2 separate regions of the Homo sapiens genome follow, and region 2 is linked to region 1. The links are contacts of gene promoters, found by promoter capture Hi-C in blood cells and fetal thymus (Javierre and others, 2016). All regions are on one chromosome and are shown on one strand. Each heading gives the region's core, a stretch centred on a gene start or on the middle of the fragment in contact. The rest is flanking DNA. Distances are from core to core; before and after follow the strand shown. Region 1 holds the start of PCSK1 (proprotein convertase subtilisin/kexin type 1). Region 2 overlaps LOC105379091 (a long non-coding RNA gene).

Evidence for each region. The method cuts DNA at HindIII sites, captures the fragments that hold promoters and counts their contacts. A CHiCAGO score of 5 or more calls a contact.
Region 2: a contact is called between a fragment that was not itself captured here and the fragment with the promoter of PCSK1 in region 1, in 2 of 17 cell types (erythroblasts and fetal thymus). The highest score is 5.5, in erythroblasts.

The regions. Positions count from the first base shown.
Region 1 is chr5:96,431,797-96,434,833 of GRCh38, forward strand. It overlaps PCSK1 (proprotein convertase subtilisin/kexin type 1), which reads right to left and starts at 1,452. Exons shown (of 14, transcript NM_000439.5): 1 at 1,067-1,452. The coding sequence starts at 1,246. The region is part of intron 4 of LOC101929710 (a long non-coding RNA gene); the gene reads left to right. It also overlaps a transcript of CAST not described here and the pseudogene LOC102724070. RefSeq lists silencers at 2,329-2,623, 2,485-2,604. The HindIII fragment of the contact is 4,966 bases long and covers 897-3,037 here.
Region 2 is chr5:95,862,265-95,865,301 of GRCh38, forward strand. LOC105379091 (a long non-coding RNA gene) reads left to right here. Exons shown (of 3, transcript XR_001742813.2): 1 at 1-1,482. Among named protein-coding and RNA genes, the nearest start is that of LINC01554, 12 kb to the left of the region's middle. RefSeq lists enhancers at 1-903, 1,159-1,660. The HindIII fragment of the contact is 1,507 bases long and covers 739-2,245 here.

The sequences.
Region 1 (3,037 bases), core at 202-2,701:
CCACCTCCAGAAAAAACGCGCCAAAATGTTTTACAACTGCCTCCTCCCACGCTTCAATGCAGACCAACTTCCCAAGCAGGGGGCGAGGGCTTGATTCCGAGCCAAGGAAAGGAAAGCTCTAGACTAGAAGTCACACTCCCTAGGGTCCCCTCGGAATCGCTCAGCTATAAGCAGTCTCCCACTTAATGTCTTGACGCCCACCCACCTCCAACCAGCTACCTATCGACCAAGCCTTCACTTGGACAGGCAACAATAAGCTGAAATTCCCGGGAAAACGATTACGTACTTGGCTGAAGAACAAGAAAGAAATAGATCCCTTCCCCATAGTCAGTTCGGCATCTCGACCCTGCAGTGGGACTGGCCGGGCAAAGTTATGAAGCTTGGACTTTATAAGTTCCCAGTGAAAAGCCGGAGCTCCCTAGAGAGTCGCGGGGATAGATGGTCCCGTGTCTTTCACCCACCATTTCTCCCCCCAGCTTCCCAGGCTACTCCGCGGCCTCCCAACCTCCTGGTCGCGAGTCCCAGCAGCTGGCACTCTTCCAATGCCCTGGGCGTGCCCTTACAGGCTGCCAGGGCGGACAGCCCCAAGCCTGCTTAGCCCCTTGCATCAGGACTTGGATCTGATGCTGCCATATTGAAAAGAAGGCAACAGCCGGCTCCTGACGCAGACCGCCTCAGTCCCGGGGGATGGAGCGCACTGCTTCTCCCGGGGGCGCTTGGTTGGTAAGAGCTTGAGTGTATCTCAAGTTCCCTGAACAAGCGTGGAGGGATTTTTCTTCCAAACCGCGCGGGAACGGATTTCAATTCTAGAGCGGCCAACAGTAAGCATAAGCCCTACCCAGCTGCAGCGGCTTCCTTCTGCTTGGCTGCGCCCAGCCTAAACAGTAAATAATGCAAGCTTTCTCTCTCTCCAAGCGCGACAGGGGCGAGGGCTGGAGCAGCTCCTTGCTCTTTGCTACTCTGGGCTCTGGAGAGTGCAACCTGGGGCTCCCACTTGGAAGACCGCGCTCCAGTCCCGCCAGTCCCCTGGGGCCCCAGAAAGTTTCTTGAAAGTGGAAACTCTTACCTGACCCAAAAGGTCATAGCCCAGCTCCTCGGCGATGGCCGAGGCTGCTTCCGGGCCCCCGGGGATCTCCGCTGCCCATTCATTGACAAATTGCCTTTTCGCTTTTGCACTGTTCAGTGCACACCAAGCGCAAAAGAGGACGAAAGCAGTGCACTGCAGACTCCAGGCTCTTCGCTCCATAGCTCACACACTCGCTTGAACAAGAGTGGGAAGGGAAGAGGAAAAAGAAGCAAGATAGGAGAAAAGCCAGACAGACTCCCCCTTCCCACCCTCGGGCTCTAGACCACTCCTGGCTCCTGGTTGCTCTGCGAAGAGCTAGGAGGCGCGAGAGGAGAGGCTGGGCGGCGGCGAGCGCTCAGTGAAGCGCTTCGGTCTCCAGGCTGAGTGGAGCCCCAGCCCTTCCCAGCCAGAATGGAAATGAGTGTTTACACGTCAAATCGACGAAAGCCATCTCTTGACGTCAGATCTACCTGGACTAAGATCCGAATGGTATTCCCGGCGGGGCGGAGAAGCGGCTAAAATAAGCAGCCAGGGATTAGGAAAAGGAAGGAACTGTTTGCTGGGATCAGTTAAGTCTGCTCCTTGTCTGCCCATAAATTCTGTACCGTGAGAAACATTTTCACTTTTCAAAGAGAAGTGCCCCACTTGAACATAACTACCAAGAATCAAAGGCTGGGAGTGCTTTCCCTCCCTTCCATCCATTTTCTCTGTATTTACTTTATTATCTCATGTGTGTGGCGGGGAGGGGGGGAGGCTATAGGATTCTTATAATGGCCCTTTGGGCATCAGCACCTGCTATGAAGAACAAGGCTCTTAGGTCTTTCAAAGAGAGAGGCTAGGAGAGTAAGGAGAAGAAGGGAAGCTACTACTGTCCCAATTCTGTTCTAAATTGTCTGAGAAAATTAGCATGTCTATGTTAAAGCAATACTATTAAAAATGAATTTTTAACCATTCAAGCCACCTTAGTTTACAAGTTTACTTCCCTCCTCCCCTTTGTTTCTCAACCTCAGTAAAACAATATCAGTAGTTATACTCCGATATTGCAAAGCCAGCGCCACCACCACCTTTTAGGGTGTTTATCAGTAAAATGATTAATCATGTGATTTTAAAAAAACATATTTTTAAGAATTCGTCAACAAGGGGATCTAGGATCCCAAAAGCTGTTGTGTTGATTCAGGGAGGGAAAGAGCAGTTTTTATTTACCTCGACTTTCCATTGTGCCTCAGTAGAGCTCTTCACTTTGGTGCTGAGCTGGAGCTGTGCCATTACTTTCCCATAAAATGCACAATGCCTCTTTGTGGAAAAATGGTTTCCTGTGGGAGGAGAGCAAGGAAACATCTAAATGAATTCTCCACCCCTCACCCTAGGGAAGTGAGTTCAGTCTCCCATGGTGGAGCCTATTCGAACCCTGAGGGATTGAACCTGGCGGGAGATACCAGTGCCTAGTATTCAGCACCGAGGTCTGGACAGCGACACACGCAGGACTGCCGCAGGAGCTGCTCTCTCTTCTGAGCACCAAAGACCTCCACCCTTCTGCAGCTGGCCAGCACCAAGCTGTTTTCCTTTTGATATGTGCATTTCCCTCTTTTGAACAGCAAAATAGGAAATTGGCCGCAGGGGGGAGTGTGGTTAGGTTCATGATCGTGACAACTTGTGTCCAGCTCTTGGGAACGTGTTGGACTCAGGCCAAAAGTAAAATCGCCGGGAGGTGGAATTGAGAGAGTATGCTGCACCTGGGAAGTTTGTTTTTTTTTTTGTTGTTGTTGTTGTTGTTTTTTAAAGCTCAACCGCCCGAGGGCGCGATCTATGCTGTAGAAATAGAAGAAAGGGGAGAAGGTTGGAAAGAAAGCATATAAACAAGTGGAGAAAGGAAGCAAGAGATGTTCCTTACAAGAAGCAAATGAGACAAGACTTGGTGGAGGATCAGGCTCTGTAGTGCTAATTTTTCATTTGCCTCCACGTTTGCAGAAA
Region 2 (3,037 bases), core at 242-2,741, 570 kb before region 1:
CCCTTTCCTTCTCCTACAATAATGGAAATGAAATATCAAAGTAAACAGCACCACATCCATGTCCTCAGCACATGTGACTCGCTAACAGAACCATGCCAGCCACCCCATCCCTTCTCTCCCATATTCTCTGCTGTTCTCACTGTCTCTCAAGACCTGATTTAAAACCACCTTCACTAAGAAGTCTTCCTGTCCCCCTTCTGGTCCTTCACGGAATATTATTTTGCTTCTGAAACTTAAAAAAACAATTTTGTTCTCAGGTCATTCTCTGTGTACATCCCATCTCGTCCATCCTACAGATTAGATGTTCTTCCAGGGTAGAGGCGACCCCATCTCATGTCTTTTTATTCTCCCTCTGCTTTTTATTCCCACAGGCAGTCTTCAGTACAAGAAGCGTCAATCTCAGATCTTACTCATTTCCAACCTGTACCAATCAAAGGCCCTCCCAGCCAAGATAAAAGCAAAGTCTCCCTCCTCCAGAGCACATGGGAATGGCCCCCCAGTAGCTGGGGCATGCAAGCTAATGAAGTTTCATCTTCCACCTCTATCCAAATATGACCTTGCTGATACCATCTCCTATTAGATGACAAATCCGGATGTTTCTATTGCATGGTTGTTATTTGCCACATGCTTCCTGGACAAGTTTCTAGGTAACCTTAATGTCTGTGCTTCTGGGGAAGGAGGAGTAGAAAATAACTCACCTCTTCAGTAAGTGGTTTTAAAAATATAACAGTGTTTAAAAGCTTTTAGAGAGCAGCTCTCCTTCCGGCTGCTCCAGCTCTGTTTGCTTTGTGATAGGAGCCCCCGTAACACTTCGTGCTTGGCAACATCTGACGAGGACAGAAGGCAGGTTTAAAGCTGAGAAGATTGATTTTTCCTTTGTAGGGCTTTCCATGAGGGGCGTGGGAGAGAAGTCACTTGGGGAAGCAGTGGTCAGTGAGGTTTACTTCTCCATATGCTCTGCATTCATGTGTAAGGCTAAACAAACGTGTTGTCTCCGCAAGCAAATCCCACACCACAGAGAGGAGCAGTTTGTCCTGGAGGTCCTAAGGAGGTGACCAGTGACCTGGAGGGTAAAAGGTTGGGGCTCCTGAGACCTTTCTTCCAACTCTCATTTCCATCCTAAACTGGCAGGGGAAATGTACCCAAATTGCCTGTGTGTTTCGATTTGATGTGGACACACTGTGACCACTCAGGATCGCTCTGGTGCTGCTGAACTCCATGGTTCATATTAGGCCCGACTGTCTAGTTTTAGAAAGTGGGAGGAGATTTCCCCTCTGCCAGGGCTTGGGGTTTATGTTCCCCAGAGCATTGAGCAAGAGCCTCATGTTTACAGAAATCTCAGGCCCCATGATTTCTTCCTGTCAGGGTAGAAGGAGAAGGAGTAGGCACAGACTGTGGAGTAGATCTTGCCACTTCAGTCCCTTTGTTCTTGCCCAGCATGAGGTTACCAAGGAAAGGATACCTGGGGCGCTGGGGGTGAGGGTATGTATTGGTTGTTTGAACTCTGAAAATATAATTTTAAAATTGGCATTGTAAATCAAATCATTAGGTCTTCTGCATATAGTTTTATTTTTTCTAAAACTTCATAAAGCTGTCAAAAATACCTACACTATATTTTAAATGCTGTGGGCAATATAGTTTTTAAAATTTTATTGTGAAGTGCTGTTGTAATTCCTTTAAGAGATGTACACTGTCTACCTGGTTTATTTTGTGTGCAAATATGTATATATACACTGTATATATACATATACATATACACACAACTATATACATACATGTATATATACACACATATATATTTCAAAGTTTTTTGAGATCTAGTGCTCACACAGCATTTGGTAGTAACTAACAGCTGCTAAGTCAACTCCTAACCTTCTCAACCTCATCTGGTGTGACTTAGAGCAGAAATGGTCCAACCAGCGCAGCAACCATGTACCCACCCAAGTTGACTCCTATGGGCGTAATGTCCACAGGTGCTTCTGCCTTGGTGTGTCAACTCCATCTTACAATTTAGGAGAATTTGGTTACATAGCACCTACTAGGTCTTAAAAATAAAAATATCAATGCCCATTTTATATAGTGGGTCTATGTAGGATCTAGTGAAAATACGCACTTAAGTCTTTTAGAAGACAGGAGAGATTGGGGTCATACAATTTTTTTTTGCATATGTGAAGAGAGTAAATACTTAGTGTTCATCAACTCCATGAAAATGAAGATTCCAAACTACCACAAAACTAAGGAATAAAGCTTTATCATTTGGCTTTAAAGACTCTGAAAGTACTGGGTTCTATTATTGCCTTAATTGGGGTCATGCAAGGGTGGAACAATAGGAGCTAAATAGTTCATGTTAAGGCAGATCAAGGCTTGACAAGTTCCAGATTTCCAGCAGGATTTAACTCCTGAGTCACATCAACTTGGGGTACAAGATTCACTGGGAAGCAGGGAGGAGCAAAAATCAGTCTGTAGAACTCTAGAAAGCAGTACCTGATAAAGACCTTTAAAGTCTCCATGAATCAAAGATATTAAGATTCGTTTTCTGCTACCCCATCTTCAAAATGAAAGCTATTCAAAGCCACAACATAAATATAAAAATTTCTCCCATGGTAACCACCTGGTTGATTAAAATATGTTTAATTTTTCCTTTTCTTCTGTGAATTGCTGCTGCCCTAAGTATGTACGTGGTCTGCCTGTTAGCTTCCTAAGCACATCTGGCAAGGTGGGGTAGATGAAGAAGGGCAGCTATGGAGGTGGGCATTTGGGAGAATGTAAATGCAAGGCTGGGGACAGCTCTCACTGGAGGGTAGCATGACTGCCCAGCCAAGGGCCAAACTATAAAGGGACAGCCCCGGCAAGTGCTCCAGAGTAGGTGGATTTCACAACGTATGGAACCACTCCTTTTAGGTCCGAAGTGCTACATACTTAGTTTATGATTTGCAAACATTCATCTTCTGGCTGGAAGGCTGGAGACAAACAGACAGCTCATTAGGAAAATAACCAAAGAGCTAAATAAAATGGAGGAAGTAGGCAGCAGATCCCA